Linked DNA regions of Homo sapiens: region 1 is linked to region 2. Evidence: promoter capture Hi-C in human tissues and cell types (Jung and others, 2019). All regions are on one chromosome and are shown on one strand. Each heading gives the region's core, a stretch centred on a gene start or on the middle of the fragment in contact. The rest is flanking DNA. Distances are from core to core; before and after follow the strand shown. Region 1 has its middle 44 kb from the start of XXYLT1-AS1. Region 2 holds the start of LSG1 (large 60S subunit nuclear export GTPase 1).

Region 1 (6,012 bases), core at 1-2,500, 380 kb after region 2:
TGGATCGCTGCAACTTCTGCCTCCCGGGTCGGAGCGATTCTCCTGCCTCAGCCTCCCGAGTAGCTGGGACTACAGGCACGCACCACCATGCCCAGCTAATTTTTGTATTTTTTGTAGAGACGGGGTTTCACCGTGTTGGCCAGGATGGTCTCGATCTCCACCTCGTGATCCACCCACCTTGGCCTCTCAAAGTGCAGGGATTACAGGTATGAGCCTCCATGCCTGGCCACTCCCTCCATCTTTACATGGTCCATCTCTCTCCTCCAAGGCACTCCTCACATGGAGGACGTTTCTGTCTTACAGTCCATAAAACCAGAACAGATGAGAGAGTTGAAAGGGACCTCGATTCTGAGATACTCCAGAACAGCAATTGTCTCAAAAGGTTTCTGTGGATAAATACATTTGGGACATGCTAGGTTAAAAATAAACATGGCCCTCTCCTGCAGGACTGATCAGAGCCTTTAATGCACTGAGGAGCACTAAGAATCCCCAAGAAGGGGATCCAGTGTGAATGGAGTGTTTCTTAAACATTTGCCCAAGAAACTTTTTTGACCACAGAGTAAGTATCCTTTAACATGGGGATACTGATCTAAGCTCATAATTATTTTATAGATGGGAAATTGAGGCCCAGAGTGGCGAATTAATATACTCAGAGTCACACAGGGTATCAGAAGCAGAGCTGGGGCTGGAACCCAACCTCCTCCCTTTCAAGGGTCCTAGAAAATGGTGTTAGTTGTTTTCCAACAGCTGCTTGGACAAGAGGCGGCAGATACAAATGAGTCCATGGTGCCTCGTCTTGCTGCTCCCGTGGAAGGAGGTCGCACACACCACCCCACTGCCATTCTCACCTCTCTCACTCCTGATAGTGCCGGTCCCTCTGCATCCTGTTGCACTGCTCTCTGCCTCCGTTTCTTACCAGCACCTTCTGTATGGCCAGAGCTGTATGCCCAGCTCCTCCCTCAGCCTAGCTGCCGGCAGAGCTCCATGAATATGAGGAAACGCGAGTCAGTGGAGAAGGAGCCCCATCAGCCTGCAGCACTGGGGCTGGGGGTGAAAACAGAAGCAGGCAGGGGACAGCTTGGCACCAAAGCCACCTGCAGACACGAAGAGAATAAAGGTGTCCCTTTCCTCTGCAGGGAATGCTTTACTTATTCCAGCAACATTTAGGTGGATATGTTGCCCCACTTCTCAAAGCAAGCTGTCCACTTCCTATACTTAGGCAAGAGTGAGCAGACTGATACTGGGTTTCAGCTAAGAATAGGCCTTTGGCTGACCATCTAAAGTCAGGCCATCCTCGTGCTGCTCTGCTGTTTCATGCACTGGGGACATGGTCTTTAGGGTCCAGTGACTGTCAGAAAGGGAAGCAGCCTCCAGCCATACAATCAATCCATCGCCCATCCGTCCAGTCATCCGATCAACCAACCAGACACCAAACAGCTTCCTATCCACTCACCTGTACGTTCAAGGGAAACAGGCAAAGGATTGCATCAGCAGTGATATGCTGATTAACCACTTGCTCTCCGGAACAAAAAGCCCTGGCTTGTGCCATTTGCCAATTTCCATGGTGTTACTATTCCCACAATTTTAAGTTACCAACGTGATGTCACTGATGTGGAACTGGGAAAAGATGGATAGTAGCACACTCTCATATAGTATTTCTACCATACACATACAGATAACCTCAAGGGCATAGATTATAGTAAAATGTAGGATGATAATTAATAATTGATGTATTTTGAATATTGACTACCTTTGTTTTTAGGATCTAATTGATGGTTTATCTAATTTAATTATTTATTTATTTTTGAGATGGAGTCTTGCTCTGTTGCCCAGGCTGGAGTGCAGTGGCACAATCTTGGCTCACTGCAAGCTCTGCCTCCCGGGCTCAAGTGACTCTCCTGCCTCAGCCTCCTGAGTAGCTGGGACTACAGGCACCTGCCACCATGCCCGGCTAATTTTTGTATTTTTGGTAGAGACAGGGTTTCACCATATTGGCCAGGCTGGTCTCGAACTCCTGACCTTGTGATCCGCCCACCTTGACCTCCCAAAGTGCTGGGATTACAGGCATAAGCCACCGCGCCCAGCCAATTTAATTTTTAATAATGGTTGTTTTGAACAACTGGATCACAAAATTCTTGAAAAATTAATAATCAGCTTTCCCAATATGAGGTGGCTCCAGCTCAAGGTAGATTTGGAACACAAAGGAAAAAGTTCTTCTATACTGGAAGCAGGAGTTGAAAGGCGATCACAGTGAAATAATGACAGTCAACTCCTGTAAGTCTATACTAGGGAAGGAGACCAGTCTGACTTAGCTATGTCTGAAGCACACAGTTTAAAACGATCTTTAATTCTTAAAAAAAAAAAAAAAAGCTTTTATTTGAGGTTCAGGGGAACATGTGCAAGTTTGTTATATAGACTCATGTCATGGGGGTTTGCTGTACAGATTATTTCATCACGTAGGCACTAAGCCTAGTATCAAGCACTTAGCTTTTTTGCTCCTCTCTTCCTCCCACCCTCCACCCTCAGGTAGACCCCAGTGTCTCGTTCCCTTCTTTGCGTCCATGTGTTCTCATCATTTATCTCCCACTTGTGAGAACATGGGGTATTTGGTTTTCTGTTCCTGCATGAGTTTGTTAAGGATAATGGCCTCCAGCTCCATCCATGTTTCCTCAAAAGACATGTCTCCTTCTGTTTTTTTTTTTGGCTGCATAGTATTCCATGGTGTGTATGTACCACGTTTTCTTTATCCAATCTGTCACTGATGGGCATTTAGGCTGGTTCTATGTCTTTGCTATTGTGAGTAGTGCTGCAATGAACAGTCAGGGCCATGCGTCTTTATAATACAATGATCTCTGTTCCTCTAGGTATATACCCAGTAATGGGATTGCTGGGTCGAATGGGAGTTCTGCTTTTAGCTCTTTGAGGAATCGTCACACTGCTTTCCACAATGGTTGAATTAATTTACACTCCCATCAACAATGTATAAAAAAAAAGTCTTCTTTTCTCCACAACCTTGCCAGTATCTGTTCTTTTTTGACTTTTTAATAATAGTCATTCTGACTGGTACGATTTGCATTTCTCTAATGATCAGTGATGTTGAGCTTTTTTTCAAGTGCTGTTTGGCCCCGTGTATGTCTTCTTTTGAAAAGTGTCTGTTCATGTCCTTTGCCACTTTTTTGTTTGTGTTTTTCTTATAAATTCGTTTAAGTTCCTTATAGATGCTGGATATTAGACCTTTGTCAGATGCATAGTTTGCAAACATTTTCTTTCATTCTGTAAACTGTTTACTCTGTTGATAGTTTCTTTTGCTGTGCAGAAGCTCTTAAATTTAACTAGATCCCTTTTGTCAATTTTTGTTTTGTTGCGATTGCTTTTGGCATCTTCGCCATGAAATCTTTGCCTGTTCCTATGTCCAGGATGGTATTGCCTCGGTTGTCTTCTAGGGTTTTTATAGTTTTGGGTTTTATATTTAAGTCGTTAGTCCATCTTGAGCTGATTTTTGTATGTGATGTAAGGGAGGGGTCTATTTTCAGTCTTCTGCATATGGCTAGCCAGTTATCCCAGTACCATTTATTGAATAGGGAGTTCTTTTCCCATTGCTTGTTTTTGTCAGCTTTGCTGAAGATCAGATGGTTGTAAATGTGTGGCCATATTTCTGGGCTCTCTGTTCTATTCCATTGGTCTGTGTCTGTTTTCGTGCCAGTAGTATGCTGTTTTGGTGAAGTATAGTTTGTAGTATAGCCGTGTAGTATAGTTTGAAGTTGGGTAATGTGATGTCTCCAGCTTTGTTCTTTTTGCTTAGGATTGCCTTGGCTATTCGGGCTCTTTTTTTGGTTCCATATGAATTTTAAAATACTTTTTTCTAGTTCTGTGAAGAATGTTGTTGGTAGTTTGATAAGAATAGCATTGAATCTATAAATTGCTTTGGGCAGTATGGCCATTTTAATGACATTGGTTCTTCTTAGTCATGAACATAAAATGTGTTTCCATTTGTTTGTGTCATCTCTGATTTCTTTGAGCAGTGTTTTGTAATTGATTTCTTTGAGCAGTGTTTTGTAATTCTCATTGTAGAGATCTTTCACCTCTCTGGTTGGCTATATTCCTAGGTATTTTATTCTTTTTGTGGCAATTGTGAATGGGATTGCCTTTCTGACTTGGCTCTCAGCTTGGCTGTTGTTGGTGTATAGGAATGCTCGTAATTTTCGTACATTCATTTTTTATCCTGAAACTTTGCTGACGTTGTTTACCAGTGGAATGAGCTTTTGGGCTGCGAGTATAAGGTTTTCTAGATGTAGAATCATGTCATCTGCAAACAGGGTTGGTTTGACTTCCCCTCTTCCTATTTGGATGCCCTTTATTTCTTTCTCCTGCCTGATTGCCCTGGTCAGGACTTTCAATATGTTGAATAGGAGTGGTGGGAGAGGGCATCCTTGTCTTCTGCAGGTTTTCGAGGGAAATGCTTCCAGCTTTTCCCTGTTCAGTATGGTGTTGGCTGTGGGTTTGTCACATAGATGGCTCTTATTATTTTGAGGTACATTCCTTCAATACCTAGTTTATTGTGAGTTTTTGACATGAAGGGATGTTGACTTTTCTGAAAGCCTTTTCTACATCTGTGGAGGTAATCATGTAGATTATCTTCAGTTCACGACATATTTAATTCCATTGCATTCATGTATCCTGAATAATTTCAGTCCTATTTTGCTTTCCAGGGTCAACAGTATTCAGTTAAGCACCACTTTCTTCTTGAGCAACTTTCTTCTCTCGGTTCTTCTGGCCCCTTCACTTTGTTGTTCCCCTGTTACTTCAATCTCCTTTGCTAATTCCTCCTCCTTTTCAGCTCAGTGTGTGAATGTTGGAGTGTTCGGAGTTTGGTCCTGGGCCCTCTTCTCACTATTTACACTCTCTTCTTAAGGATTTCAATTAGTCCAGAGGCTCTAAATATCATGTATCAGTGCTTTCTTATTTTTTGTCTAAGCGTCACATAGAAATAATTTTTTAAAAACCCAAACAGTGCTAAAAAGCTTATTTTTAAAAAGCAGGAGTATCTTATCTATCTTCCCCACACCTCTTCAGAAACAATCTCTTTTCATTTGTTTCCTTCCAGGATTTACCTATTTATCTCCATATTTCTAAACAGCATGCATATCTTGCTAGCCTTTTTACAATCAATTTTATATAAATGTGTGTGTGTGTGTGTAATTTTTTTTTTTTTTTGAGATGGAGTCTCGCTCTGTCGCCCAGGCTGGAGTGCAGTGGCACAGTCTCGGCTCACTGCAGCCTCTGCCTCCCAGGTTCAATCGATTCTCTGCCTCAGCCTCCCGAGTACCTGGGATTACAGGCACGTACCACCATGCCCGGACAATTTTTGTATTTTTAGTAGAGACTGGGTTTTGCCATGTTGGCCAGGCAGGTCTCGAACTCCTGGCCTTAACTGATCCACCTGCCTCAGCCTCCCAAGGTGCTGGGATTACAGGTGTGAGCTACCATGCCCAGCCTCGATTTAATATATTATCTGTTAACTTCTTATTATAGTAAATAATGATTTGAGATATTTTACATCATCTATTTCCCTCTTTGCACTTCAAGTTTTAAAAAAAAATCTGTAGTAGTATTTCACTGATAGGATTAAGTTAATATTTTCATTGATGGGCCCAGCAAATGCATATTCTTTCTTTAAACCTTTTTTTCTGGAGTCAATAATTTTTATTTGCTTACTTTTTGTTGTTGTGGTTATTGCTGTTTTACTCTCTGGCTAGCTCTCCCTGCACCCTCTAAGGCCTGTCAGTTATTCGCATGGTCAAGTATGTCACTACTTTGTCAGTTCCACTTCCCTCCAAACCCCTCCCACCTCCCGCTCCCACCTCCCACTCCCATCTGCACTGCCGCTCTCCCAGCCTGCTGCACAGCCGAGCATCCCCTTCAATTCCTGGCTCCATTAGCCCCCTGCTTCCTGGATCTTGTGCATTCTTTTTTCTTGGTTTACTTCCTTGCAATGGTGACGCTTTCCTCCTG
Region 2 (6,066 bases), core at 518-3,017:
GTCAAAATCTAAATGGCACAGGTAGAACTTGAACCCAGATTGTCTGACTGTGCTAGTCAAAATTAGTCAAAACTTTATTTGATATAATCCCACAATAAGAAATACATTTTACATAGTGACCCAAAGGTGTATGTACATATAATGATACAAGCATTCAAGTACCGTTCAGTACAGTAAAATGGCAATAGAAGAATACTGAAACCACACCCTATTACATGCAACATTCTGATATTTCTCTATCTTGCTGGGGAAAAAATAAAAACAAAACAAAACAGCTAGCTGCAGACCACTAAATTGACTTCCAGACACAACCCAGAGTTTGATAACCATCACCCTAAGCTATATACTTAGTATAGATACAAATAAAAAAAAATTGCCAGGCGTGGTGGTTTGTGCCTGTAACCCCAGCTCCTCAAGAGGCTAAGGCAGGAGGATTGCTTGAGGCCAGGAGTTTGTGATCAGCTTGGGCAACACAGCAAGACCCTGTCTCTCCAAAACAAACAAACAAAACCAAACAACCAGGCCTGATGGTGTGCACCTGTAATGCCAGCTACTCAAGAGACTGAGGCAGGGGGATTATTTGTGCCCAGAAGTTTGAGACTGTAGTGAATTGGTGAGTTATGATCACACCACTGGCACTCTAGCCTGGGTGACAGAGTGTGACCCTGTCTCTAAAAATGAATAACTGAATGATGAATGAATTTCCTAAATAAATATTAAGGGCCAAAAGTTTAAGTGGGCATAGAATCAGCAAAAATAAGGAATTAGGATCCAATTCTTTACCATTCATGTTCAATCTTCCCACAGTTTCCTAAAAGGCTTCATTAGTAACAAGTTGCTTCAAAGCTAATAAAAATTACCAGTAATCTAATGTCCAGAGTAACTCTGACCTGATGAATACTGATAAGCACTCCATGCTGTTTACTCTGCAGACTATATGGATGAAAGTCAGCTGGTGTGACAGTGGCACACGCTTACTTAGCTCCAGGGACATATTTAACTAAATTTAGCACACGATCTTAGCACTCAACATGTTCTCATTCATTCCCGGGGGAATGAATGGTGAAAATAACGACTAGAATGATGAACACAAGCCAAATCACTTCATTCATTTTTTTAAAGATCCTTCTATAACCTAGTAAAATATTAGGTCTTGTCACACCTGAAAAATCAATGATTTATCTTTGAGCTAAACCACTAGGGGGTGCTTCGCAAGGATGAGGCAAGGATCTGAATTATTTTATATTTCTGGCAGTAACCAACCGCTTCTGGAGGATCCATTCTTTGAACAAATCAATACAAAAATACGTTTTGTCTTTTTCCTGCTCTGGAAGTTCCAAGCACTTCAGTGGCTTCTAGGGCAAAACCCAAACGTACTCAAGACCTGGCATTGAAGACTCTTCAGATTCTCACTCCACGCCTCATCACCACACTAACTCTTCTTTCAAGCTTCTCCTACCTTTGTGTTCTGGGCCTTGCCAGGAGGAGGGCCTGCTACTCAGCTTGGCAGAAACTCCAACTCATCCTTCAAAACCCGGCTGAGGCGTCCCTCCTGCAAAACTTATCTGACTTTTGACCCCGAATTTTGCAGCACTCAGGCTAGACAGAAAAGATAAGAAAGATGACATGGTCTGTCTTACCCAGGAGTCAGTGTGACGATGGCTTCGGCTCCGCTGAGTCTGATGGCGCATAAGGGCCCGTCCCAGCGACCCACCGGCCGGGGCTCTCCTCCGGCCCATGGCAACACGACCGCTGGACGAAGCTTCCCGGCTCGGCGCGTGCAGTTTCCGGGATTCACAGTTCGATCCCCGGAAGTGACGATAAGCGAGCCCAAGTAGTTCAGGCTCAAACTTGAGAGGGGAAAGCAGAATGACTTGTTCTCAAGTTCTCCTTTTACGTCTCGATTTTACCAGTATTATAGAATATAAGTGAAAAAATGGTTCTGGGAAATTTTCGATAGATTTCCTGGCGAATGTCTCGAGTTTGGATAAATGACTGAGTTAAAAGAATGGTCCATTCTTAATTTGTGCGTCGGTCTTTAGCGTCCGGCGAGAAACTAGAGCACGTCGGAAACATGGCGGTTCCTATTCGCGGCACTAGCTCCGCCTTCCGCTGCTTCCGTCAGGAGGACGCGGAGACTCGGAGGAAGAGTGTTTCGGTGGCGCTGGGACGGGGGCGTTTCCCAGCGCTGGTTTTCTGCTGGCGTCCCGAGGTGTGGTCTCTCCGAGGTCCAGCACAGCAACTAACTTTTTGTTTATCTAGCCGACCCCAGCTGCGAACTGGGGAGAAAAGTCTTCGCCTGGATGTGAATTTGGAATGAGAGGCTGAATAGTATTTCCAGAGCTTGGCAAGGTTGTAGGAAAAGCCAACAGGAAGTGACTTACGCTTTATTTCAAAGAAAAAAAAAATGTTTAAACAGTTCTAATTATATTTTCATTACCCTTTTTAAAAATAATTAAAATGAAAGTGAAAACAGTGAGCCAGCTCCACTCCTAGAGGCCTGGGCTTTTGTTCCTCACTTGAATGTTTGATTTCCCTATAATGGGAATAATAGAAAGTCAGCTTAGAGTGGCTGGTGAACTACATTCTCATTGATCCAGAGAACCATCTCTTTGTTTTGATGCTTGGAGAGAGGAAGCAGCTTGAGCAAGTCGTAGATTGAGTGCGTGCAGTGTCAGGAATAAACCCAAGTCTTGTCACTAGCCTGTACACCCCTGGGGAGAGTGGGGAATGAGGGTTGTTAACATGTATTATTTATTTATTTTTATCTTTTGAGACAGAGTCTCGCTGTCCCCCAGGTGGAGTGCAAAGGCATGATCTCGGCTCACTGCAACCTCTGCTTCCCGGGTTCAAGTGATTCTCCTGCCTTAGCCTCCCGAGTAGCGGGAATTACAGACACGTGCCACCGCACCCAGCTAATTTTTGTATTTTTAGTAGAGACAGGGTTTGACTATTTTGGCCAGGCTGGTCTCGAACTCCTGACCTCAGGTGATCGCCCGCCTCGGCCTCCCAAAGTGCTAGGATTACAGGTATGAGCCACTGCGCCTGGCCAAACATGTATTTTTAAATCATAGGATCGAGGTAATGCATATATTACCTAGCATAGCTTGATTTAGCCATTCCACAATGTACACATATATCAAAACATTATGCGGTACAACGTAAGTAATAAACAATTTTTAGTTGTCAATTAAAACAACAGCCAAAAAGAAATAAATAGGATCAAGAATCTGTTTAACCTAGGGCTTTTCACACTTTAATGTGCATATAAATCCCCTGGGAATCTTGTTAACATGCAGATTCTGATTCATAAGCTCTGGGGTGAGGCCTGTGGCTCTAACAAGCTTCCAGGTGATACCCATAGTACTGGTCCTTGGGTCACACTTTGAGTAGCAAGCGTAGTCCACTCTTTCCTGGTGCAAATGAAGACACAGAAGTGGACTGGCTAAAGGTCAGTCATAGCAAGTTAGCATCAGGCGAAACTGGGTCCAGACTCCCACCCATTCTGAATTCCCTGCCAGGGTTTCTGTGTGCTGCACCTTACCCCTCTTACTGAATTGAAGTGAGTTTTGGGAAATGCCCAAGGGACTGCTGGCAAGCTGTGAAGCAGTTGGCAACGCTTTGAGAAGGCAGTGCTCACAGATGAGCAAAGGAATGCATCAGAACATCATTTCTCCCATTTCTCAATTTAGAAACAGTGTATCTTTAAAATCCTACACATAATCTCCAGAAGTAAGATATGAAGAAGACCCACGAAATAGAATTAGCAGACAGCTCCCGGCATTCTCTCCAGAGCTAAGTGGTTAAAGGTCAAACTAACTCATGAAGTAAGATTTCACATTTTAATAATAATACTAGGAGGTGAGATAAAGAAACTCACCATCTCATTCCTAGAGCTCAACCAGGAACTTGGGACTTCATCTAGTTTCTTTTTCCAGATTTTGTCACCTCTGGAGAAAATAAACACTTTGGTTTTCCACTGTTACTTTTCTAAGGGCTTAAAAAATCTTGACCAAATAAGACCAGGCGTGGTGGCTCACGCCTGAAATCCCAGCACTTTGAGAGGCTGAGGCGGGTGGGTCACCTGAGGTCAGGAGTTTGGAGACAAGCCTGGCCAACATGATGAAACCCCGTCTCTGCTAAAAATAGAAAAATTAGCCCGGTGTGGTGGCATGCACCTGTAATCCCAGCTACTCGGGAGGGTGAGGCAGGAGAATTGTTTGAACCCGGGAGACAGAGGTTGCAGTGAACCCACATCGCACCACTGCACTCCAGCCTGGGCAACAAGAGCGAAACTTCGTCTCCAAAAAAAAAAAAAAAAACTTAACCAAATAAACCAAAGTGATAATCAGGAGTGGTGAGGAGTCAAAAGGTCATAAAGATTTAATTAGCAGCAACTACTCCTAGCTGACAAGAAAAGGATAGATAATCCTAATATTTCTCCCAAGACGTTACGAAAATCTACCGATGACAGACAACTGAGTCTCAGTCTTCTCATCTGGTTAATGAGGCTAATAACAATTCCTGCCCTGAAGAGGTAACAAATGAGATAATGCTGCAAGGTGATTGCCTAGTAATTTGTGGGGGTATCATCTGGCACAGCTGAACACGTTTTCTTTCCCCAAAAACTAAGCAATGACGGTGAAAGCCCAGCTGGATAACTGTTCAGTGAGAAGGACAAGGAGGAAAGGAATTGAAGGTGTTGATGAGACAAGATCATGGGACCCAGATTAAAAGGAAGGAGGTAAGATCGTGGGGGAGTGATGATGGTGGTGACGGAGGGTGGAGCAAGGTGCTGGCTGCTGCCCAAGTGAGGGGGTTGCAAAGATGAATCAGTCCAGGTCCCTGCCCTCCAACTGCAGAAACCATTTCACCCACACACTTCAGGAACAGCAATACCTAGCCGAACCCCTGTCACTGCTTTCTCACGCCAGCGGAAACTGTCGCCCACCAGGCTTGTGACTGGAAGATGGGCCAGATCCTCCCGATTCCCCACGTAGCTGAACGCTTCCGTTAAAGCCAGGATTCTCTGAAAAGCTGGCTCCTGGAGGAGGCTGCATTGATTTGGGGATTGGAAGCCTGGCACCCAGCTTCTAAATAGTGACACAGGGAGTGTTCCCTATTCATGGGGTTGCATAATGCTTGATTTCTACCGCGTCTCAACAAATGTAGTTACAAGCTCTGAAACCCACACCCAGCAACAAACTTTGGAGTTGCTTTCAGCTTTCCAAGTCCACACTGTTGTGCCTCTGGGCTCCACATCTGTCTGAGGAAGGAGAGGAAAGAGTGGGTTGGTTTCTGTTGTTTTTCCTGTCATACTTTGGCCAAAAATGAGTTGGTGGCAGAAAAGTTGTTCCAAGGCGAGCTTGCAGTCTGGTCTCTCCTTCTTTCCCATACGATACACCACCTCCTTCTACAAGGACATTAAAACAGTTTGCATAAGACTGAGAGTTGTGAAAATAGACACTGGCAGCCTCTGTAGAGCGTAATTGAATCAGTAGGGAAACTCCCTATGATTAACTGCCATTCTCAGTTTATCCCTATTGAAAATGGGTGGATTCTCACGAGTTTCATAATTCAGCAGATTTTAAAAAATCTTTTAAATTGACATATAATAATTGTATGTATGTATGAGGTGGTTTTGATACATGTATACATTGTGTAATAATCAAATCCGAGTATTCAGCATATCCATCACCTCAGTTATCATTTCTTTCTGGTAAGAACATTCAAAATCCTCTCTTCTAGTTATTTTGAAATATACAACACAATATTGTCAACCATAGTCACCCTACTGTCAGCAGACATTTATTGGTGGCTATTATAATGATTAATTTGAGTCCCTGCAATCAAACATTGATTTCTTGCCTGTGCAAGGAAATGTGTAAAAGACCTCTTGCTTTGGTGACACAGGCCACAAGATCCTATGTATTTGAACCCACGAACTTTTTCTCAACTCGTGTTATGTATGGAATATCTAGTGTCTTTTATTCAGAGATGCCTTTGCAATTACTTTTTCCCTCTTGACAGTCAAGTGAAAAAGGGTATTGTTATTTTACTGCACTT

The links. Contacts are between HindIII fragments. The study calls those that stand out against the background at their distance.
Region 1: a contact is called between a fragment that was not itself captured here and the fragment with the promoter of LSG1 in region 2, in 1 of the 25 tissues and cell types used here (lymphoblastoid cells).

Annotation. Positions count from the first base shown.
Region 1 is chr3:195,047,271-195,053,282 of GRCh38, forward strand. No RefSeq gene overlaps it. Among named protein-coding and RNA genes, the nearest start is that of XXYLT1-AS1, 44 kb to the right of the region's middle. The HindIII fragment of the contact is 4,889 bases long and covers 1-3,695 here.
Region 2 is chr3:194,670,424-194,676,489 of GRCh38, forward strand. LSG1 (large 60S subunit nuclear export GTPase 1) reads right to left here and starts at 1,768. Exons shown (of 14, transcript NM_018385.3): 1 at 1,641-1,768. The coding sequence starts at 1,739. LOC124909474 reads right to left here. Exons shown (of 3, transcript XM_047449428.1): 3 at 3,241-5,413. The coding sequence ends at 5,220. RefSeq lists an enhancer at 4,074-5,273. The HindIII fragment of the contact is 4,871 bases long and covers 1,606-6,066 here.